2 separate regions of the Homo sapiens genome follow, and region 1 is linked to region 2. The links are contacts of gene promoters, found by promoter capture Hi-C in human tissues and cell types (Jung and others, 2019). All regions are on one chromosome and are shown on one strand. The core of a region is centred on a gene start or on the middle of the fragment in contact, and the rest is flanking DNA. Distances in the headings are between cores, read along the strand shown.

The links. Contacts are between HindIII fragments. The study calls those that stand out against the background at their distance.
Region 1: a fragment that was not itself captured here is called in contact with the fragment with the promoter of COQ2 in region 2 in 1 of the 25 tissues and cell types used here (lymphoblastoid cells).

What each region holds. Positions count from the first base shown.
Region 1 is chr4:82,972,432-82,976,330 of GRCh38, forward strand. All of the region lies in intron 3 of LIN54 (lin-54 DREAM MuvB core complex component), which reads right to left. Among named protein-coding and RNA genes, the nearest start is that of LIN54, 36 kb to the right of the region's middle. The HindIII fragment of the contact is 6,222 bases long and covers 1-3,899 here.
Region 2 is chr4:83,283,496-83,287,707 of GRCh38, forward strand. COQ2 (coenzyme Q2, polyprenyltransferase) reads right to left here and starts at 1,303. Exons shown (of 7, transcript NM_001358921.2): 1 at 1,017-1,303. The coding sequence starts at 1,269. RefSeq lists enhancers at 706-945, 1,141-1,435 and a silencer at 1,006-1,335. The HindIII fragment of the contact is 4,297 bases long and covers 1-3,186 here.

The sequences.
Region 1 (3,899 bases), core at 1,330-3,829, 310 kb before region 2:
AAAGTCAATTCTAAATAAACCAAACGAATCTACATCAAATAGGTTTAGAGAGCCGCCCTAAAGTATTCAGCCTGCCTAAAGTAACATGTTTGTCTATTCTGGTTTCCAAAGCTAATACCTGTGAGATAAGTATGAAGCCCCAATAACCATTCTGTTAAGAAAAGAAATTACCAGTAAAGACACAGTTTCATAAAATGTTCATTATTTATAGCCACTGCTATAATTTCATGTGTTAGGAATTACATATCTTTCAAATAATATTCATATAGAGCTGGACACAGTGGCTCACGCCTGTAATCCCAGCACTTTGGGAGGCCGAGGCAGGTGGATCACGAGGTCAGGAATTCGAGACCAGCCTGGCCAACATGGTGAAACCCCGTCTCTACTAAAACTACAAAAATTAGCCAGGCGTGGTAGCGTGCGTCTATAATCCCAGCTACTCGGGAGGCAGAGGTTGCAGTGAGCTGAGATTGCGCCATTGCACTCCAGCCTGGGCAACAAGAGCAAGAATCCCTCTAAAAAAAAAAAAAAAAAAAAAAATTCATACAGAAAATCCGCAATTCCTGAGGATAACTGGTATCAGAAAAAGGCAACTTGATGTTAATTCACTTAAAACAGGAACAAAAGTTTCATTATAAATTACAAAACTAAAAGTAATAAAACTTTTACTATCTTTCTGTGGCCTACGTTTTTTAAAAATTCAGTTTATAATTGCAACTATACTAACTCTTAAGATGAACAAAGAAAAAAATCAGCTGTTGAGTTTTGGGGAGAGAGATTGCTTCTGAAAATTTGGACGACAGCAAAATGATAAATTATGTCGATAATGATAAATGGGCACAACATACTCATAAAGCAGGTCATTTCTACCAAAATATTTCTAGATTTCATCAATTTTCCCAAGAACCTTGATATCCTTTGAAATTCAAGTTATTCTTTTTGAGGGTCTGCTTGGTTTTCATCCTGGTAGCATTTCTGATTATCTAATCTAACCTCCAAATCCCTATTTATCCTTAGTTCCACTGATTCAAGCAAGCATGCAAGTTACATAATTTGACCTTGAAATTAATTTCTGTTGTCAGGTATTCTCCAAGAATCAAAAGAGACACACTCCATAAAGCCACATATTGAATAGGCTGGGGCAGGAAGCTAGAATATTTGAGTAAGGCCAAATTCTTTAAGAGATTAATTTTACATTGTGATGAAGCTTGCTCCCATGAAGCAACCTTCTACCTTGAGAGGTGTGATAATGAGAACCTCTATTATCTCATGTAACCATTTCAAGTCTTGTCAGGTGGCTGGTATCTACATTTTACTAAACTAAGATGAACAAAATAATGTATTTACCGAAGATCATAGAGAAAATCAACAGAAGACCCATGACTGAAAACCCAAGTTTCCCAATAGCTCCTACTGTATCACTATAGTGCCTCCATGATATACATATTCATGCAACAATATGCATTCACAGAACTACATCAAAGTGCCAAAAATAGGAGCAGGGCACAGTGGCTCATGCCTGTAATCCCAGCACTTTGGGAGGACAAGGAGGGTGGATCACGAGGTCAGGAGATTGGGACCATCCTGGCTAACACGGTGAAACCCCATCTCTACTAAAAATACAAAAAATTAGCTGGGTGTGGTGGCAGGCACCTGTAGTCCCAGCTACTTGGGAGGCTGAGGCAAGAGAATGGCGTGAACCCAGGAGGCGGAGCTTGCAGTGAGCCGAGATCGCACCACTGCACTCCAGCCTGGGTGACAGAGCAAAACTCCCTCTCAAAAAAACAAACAAACCAAAAAAAAAAGGTGCCAAAAATTGTGCTAGGTTCTGGGAAGGTGGGGACAGAGGAGAAAGAGAAAGAGTGAGAGAAACAAGATAAAAGAACCATCAATACAGTACATACATAAATACATTGGAACATAATTCTGCCTTAAAAAGAAAATTCTGATATATACTACAACACAAATGCACCTTAAGGACATTATGCTAAGTGAAATAAGCCAATCAAAAAAAAAGGGCAATGGCTGGGCGTGGTGGCTCACACCTGTAATCCCAGCACTTTGGGAGGCCGAGGTGGGCAGATCACCTGAGGTCAGGAGTCCGAGACCAGCCTGGCCAACGTGGTGAAACACCATCTCTACTAAAAATACAAAAATTAGCCGGGCGTGATGGCACACACCTGTAATCCCAGCTACTTGGGAGGCTGAAGCAAGAGAATCACTTGAACCCAGAAGGCAGAGGTTGCAGTGAGCCACGATCGCACCACTGCATTCCAACCTGGGCGACAGACTGAGACTCCATCTTAAATCCCAGCTACTTGGGAGGTTGAGGCAGGAGGATCACTTGAACCCGGGAGGCACAGGTTGCAGTGAGCCAAGATCACACCACTGCACTCCAGCCTGAGTGACAGAGTGACAGACTGTCTCAAAAAAAAAAAAAAGCAAAAACGTAGATACAAAAGTGGGATGGTGGCTGCCGGAAGCTGGATTGGGGAAGGAAGAATAAGGAGTTTTTGTTTAATGGGCACAAGATTTCAGTTTTGCAAAAAGAAAAAGTTTTAGAGACGGGATGGTGGTGATGGTTGTATAACAATGTGAATGTACTTAATGCCAATGAACTATACACTTAAAACAGTTAACATGAGGCTGGGTGCAGTGGCTCACATCTGTAATCCCAGCACTTTGGAAGGCTGAGGCAGGTGGATCACTTGAGGTCATAAGTTCAAGACCAGCCTGGCCAAAATGGTGAAACCCCTTCTCTACTAAAAATACAAAAATTAGCCGGATGTGGTGGAGTGTGCCTGTAGTCTCAGCTCCTTGGGAAGCTGAGGCAGGAGAATCACTTAGTGAGTTGAGATCACGCCACTGCACTCCAGCCTGGGTGACAGAGTGAAACTGCATCTCAAAAAAAAAAAAAGTTAAGATGGTAAATTTTGTGTTATGTATATCTTACCACAATTTTTTAAAAATAAGTTTTTTAAAAGAACTACATGATGAGGCCAGGCGCGGTGGCTCATGCCTGTAATCCTAGCACTTTGGGAGGCTGAGGTGGGCGGATTAGCTGAGGTTAGGAGTTCGAGACCAGCCTGGCCAACATGGTGAAACCCCGTCTCCACTAAAAATACAAAAAATTAGCCGGGCATAGTGGCAGGCACCTGTAATCCCAGCTATTCAGGAGGCTGAGACAGGAGAATCACTTGAACCCAGGAGGCGGATGTTGCAGTGAGCCGAGATCGCGCCATTGCACTCCAGCCTGGGCAAAAAGAGCGAAAACTCCATCTAAAAAAAAAAAGAGAGCTAGATGAACAAAAAAACAAAAAAAACTACCATCATGAAAAATCATAAGGGGTATGGGGAGACAGACAAGAAAACCAAGATTTATAATACAGTATGACTAATGGATAACTCAAAGCCAGTGTGAAATTTAACAGAAGTTTAAGATAAGTACTTGGTAAGTATAACCAAGTTTTATGGAAATAAATAGGAAATGATCAGAGAAAGAGTATCTGATTAAACCTAGAAGTCAAAAACTTCCAAGATGGGTAATCTAAGAGATAAAATGGATGAGTCAGCCGCAAGGAACGGCAAAGAAAGGCATTCCATGTAAAAGGAACCTTGCCAAGACCCTTAGTCCTACAACTTAGTTTAGATCCATATGGTGATCTCTTACAATAAGTTAAATCAGTAGGTTTGGAGCTACTATTTTGAAGGTGAAAATCAAAAGGCATGCATTAGATCCTAAATGCCTTTAATGCTAAGAAAGCACTGGCATTTGAACTTAATCCTGATGGGTCCAGGTGAAGAAATGAACAAGGCCAAGAAAATTTTAAGCAAGGGTATGACAAGTTCAGATTTGCATTTTAGAAAAATCGCTTATACACAAATATAAAATCATCTTG
Region 2 (4,212 bases), core at 53-2,552:
TCTGCAAAATCAACTTGTCCTTTGGAGTATAATTTCTTCTCGAAACTTTCCAGCAAGGGATCCACAGTAATTTCTCTTTTTCCTGTAGCACTTGCTTTTGTATCACTCATATTTGATCCATATTTTCCTAGCTCACCAAATAGTCTTTTTCAACTAGACCAGAGTTCCTTGAAAGCAAAGGGTTTCCATAGCTTTTTCTATCTCTATGGCCGGACAACGTAGTAGGAACTTATTAATTCACTTAACACTACTGGAGAAGCCAATCAATCAACAAGCGCATAAGGTTAGTTAGTGGTGAGTGCTATTAAGAAAAATTGCGGATAAAGCGATAGAAAGTGAGGTTGGTAGGTGTTAATTAAGATAGGAAGGTCAGGAAAATCTTTCTGTCGGGGGCGATTGTAAGCTGACAGGCAGTCCGTAAGCGCTGTCCCTGCTGCGTTCAAATGAATTAAATCTTTGCCTTATGGGTGATGCAGGTAAAAGAGCTCCGACTCAGCATCAAAACACAGAGTTCTTCTGGTCTGGCTCTGACGAGGAGCCTTAGTTTCCTCAGCGTCTTAACTGTCTTAAGGATTGTCTTTGTGGGCCTTACAAGATTGCGGGGAGGATCAAACATTCTAATAAATGAAGGAGGGCCACGAGAACGGAACCTTCCGCTTGAGTCACCATTTAAACAAGTGTTTGTGGAATGAGAATTATCTTGCCCGCTTCAGGTGCTCAGGATGCAGACAGACGTGAAACTGGCGGGTCCTTTAGGAGACTGTCCCGACTGCGTGTCCTGAGGTGACTCGCCCCAGGGCGCACGGCAGCCGGCAGCCAAGCTCAAGCTTTCAGGCTCTCATTTCAAAGTGTCCCGAGGTGATTCGCCCCAGGGCGCACGGCACCCGGCAGCCAAGCCCAAGCTTTCAGGTTCTCATTTCCATCACGCCCCGGCCGGCCGCCGCGGACAGCTCCGCGGAGCCGACTCGGAGGCTGCTACTTGCAAATTCCCGGGCTGCCCGCCCGCCCGCACTCACCAATGGGCTTGTCCAACCGCATGAGGCGCAAGTACGGCTGCAGGGGGCGGGGCGCAGAGTCCACCACCGCCGCCGCGGACAAACTGAGCTGGCGCCCGCGCGGCTCGGGACAGGCGGGGGGCTGCAAGTCACCACCGTGGGGCGCGCCTGCCGCACGCGCCAGGGCGAAGGAGCGGCCCCGCCAGCCCGGCAGCCACGCCAGTGCCACAGCCCGCAGGCCCCGCGCGAACCCCGCGGCTCGCGAGCCCAGCATGGCGCTGGTGAGGCCGGGACGAGCTCGGATTGACGTCATTCCCCGGCAGGCATGCGCAGTGGCACCCGCAGGATGCAATCCTAGTCTGCCAGGCTGGGCGGCGGTGTGGGCAGAACCTTTCCTCATCCTTACTTGTGAAATTGGGGTCATCGTGGTCGCTTACTCTAGGGAGGAATACTTAATGAAAAAGGGATTTCTATTGGCAAAAGGCAAAAAAATTACAATAAATTTAGTTGTAATTTTTTACAACTCGATCTTGATTGACTTTGTGGTTCCATTATCGGGCAACACTCAGAACGGGGTCTCTGAGGAAACAAACAAAAAATAGAATCGGGCAACACCTTATTCTGTAAAATAGAATAAGTGTTCCAAAGAGTCGAGCGGAGGAAGTTGGCTTTATAGACAGAAAAAGGGCTGAAGAAAGCAGAAGCAGAGAACAAAAAGCGGATTGGTCACTTCAAATTACTTTCATTGCGAGGCGGGGACAGGGAAACAACAACAGAGAAATAACGGATTGGTTAACATTAGGTTACACCAGGTTAAGGACTAAAACAGGAAACTTAATTGTCATGACGATTGCATTTTGAAATGGCCTGGTTGGAAAATTGGCTGTTGTCTCTCTTTCCTGACTTCTCAGAATGTCAGATACAACTTAGTTTTAGTTTGGTGACTTGGAACTTTAGCATGGGTGACTCTTGATTCTTAGTCTGATCTGTTGGGACCTAGTGCAGGAACTTAGTTCAAAACAATGGCCCCCTATAATTTAACCCTATTATCAGCTTTCTCCATAAAATGAAAAGGATAGTGTTTATTCATATGGAACAGTTGTACCAGGAAAAAAAAAAAAAAGCTTTGAAAAACCTACTGAATCCAAAAGAAGAATTTGCGTACACGTTTAGCCATAAAAAAAAAAAAGGGCACCAAGTGGCCACATACAAGACTGTAAATTAAAATCGCATTCAGGGTTAAGGGATGTTCATTACACAAGTGAAAATTTTAAATTTGACAGCCCTTCAAAGGAGTTTTTGTAATCAGTAGACAACCAGCATGTGTGATGCTAAGAACCTGAAGCTGAAAAGTCTGGTCAGCAGAGTCTTGCTCTGTCATCCAGGCTGGAGACCAGTGGAGGGATCATGGCTCACTGCAGCCTCCACCTCTTGGGCTCAATCGATCCTCCCATCTCAGCATTCTAAATATCTGGGACCACAGACACGAGCCACCGTGGCTGGCTAATTTTTAATTTTTCATAGAGAGGAGGTCTCACTATATTGCCCAGGTTGGTCTTGAACAGCTGGGCTAAAGAGATCCTCCTGCCTCAGATGGTCAGTACTCTTATTCATAAGCAACTCTGTATATCGCTGTGTGCCAGGCACTTTACATGTATCAACTCATTTAACCTCTCACTGAGTAACCCTAGGCAAGTCACTCATCTGGATTTTAATATTCTAGGAAGTTGACTTAGTCTTTAGGCTCCTTTCTGTAAAACATGTACAATGATTCTGTGACTTCTTGCATGGCTCAAGTACAGCAAGTTGGATGCCTGGCCACTTTGGTGCAATGAGGCAGGGGGTACCTAGCCTTTCTCCTGCCTGCAAAGAATAAAGGCCAGCAGGCAATTTAGTAACACTCCTAGTTGTTAGATTGGAGATGATTTAGATCTGACTCAAACCTGAAAAGGGTGTAATATCAGTCATGTATTGCATCCATGACTTTCCAATATAGGTCCAAACTCTTTGTTTAAAAAAATATATTAAGAATTTCAAGATGGCAACAGCAGGACATTAAACCAAGTACAAGGTCCTTCTTAGCGTAGGCCCTGGGTGACTGCACATGTACCCATGATGCTGACCCTGCCCAGAGGTGATTCAATCCTAAGATATTTGGTCCAATTAAAGTGCACAGGAAACTGAGATGGGTACCCACATGTCACTCTGCTAATTTGTAGGACAAGAGAACAGTCACATAGAGTAGAGCCCTAACTTTCAGGAGTCTCCTCTAGACTAATGCCAAGGCACAGTATGCCCTTGGGAAAGCCATTTAACTGCTGCAAACTCTTCAGAAAAGGAAGGGACTAGGCTTTCTCTAAAAGGGCCTGTAAGGCTCCGATTCCTCATTTTGTTTTTTGTTTTTTTTGAAGTGACTTTCTTTTTTTTTAAAATTTTATTATTATTATACTTTAAGTTTTAGGGTACATGTACACAACGCCAATTCCTCATTTTGGATTGGGCAGGAACTCATTTTGTTTTAAACCTATTACCCACAGGAACTGAAATGGTTAATTTTACATGTCAATTTGGCTAGGCCATAGTGCCAAAACATTTGGTCAAAAATTATTCTGGCCAGGCACTGTGGCTCACACCTGTGATCCCAACACTTGAGAGACCCAGGTGAGAGAATTGCTTGAGCCCAGGAACTCAGGACCAGTCTAGGCAACATAGTGAGACCTCATCTCTACTAAAAATTCAAAAATTAGCTGAGAATAATGGCATATGCCTGTGGTCTCAGCTACTTGGGAGGCTGAAGTGGGAGGATTGCTTGAGCCCCCGAGGTTGAGGCTTTGTGAGCCATGGTCATGCCACTGCACTCCAGCCTGGGTGACAGAGTGAGACCCTGTCTCAAAAAAACAAATAATAAACCTCTCATCTTTTTTATGGTGGCCAGAAGAATGAATTACAATGACTGACAAGGCTTTGGAAACAAGACAACCCCTCCCCACATCACAAGGACTGAAAAAGGTAATCAAATAGATTTTGCAGTATGTTCGAAGGTGGTAAGTGGTATGGAGAAAAGAAGAGTAACAGGGAAAAGTAGGGACAGGCTGTATGTATACTTAAATATGGTAATTGGGGTGGTAGGACAGCCCTGATCTCACTTTCTCAAAGACTTGAAGGAGATAAGGGAGTAGCTATGAGAGATCTGAGGGAAGAATATCACTAGATACTC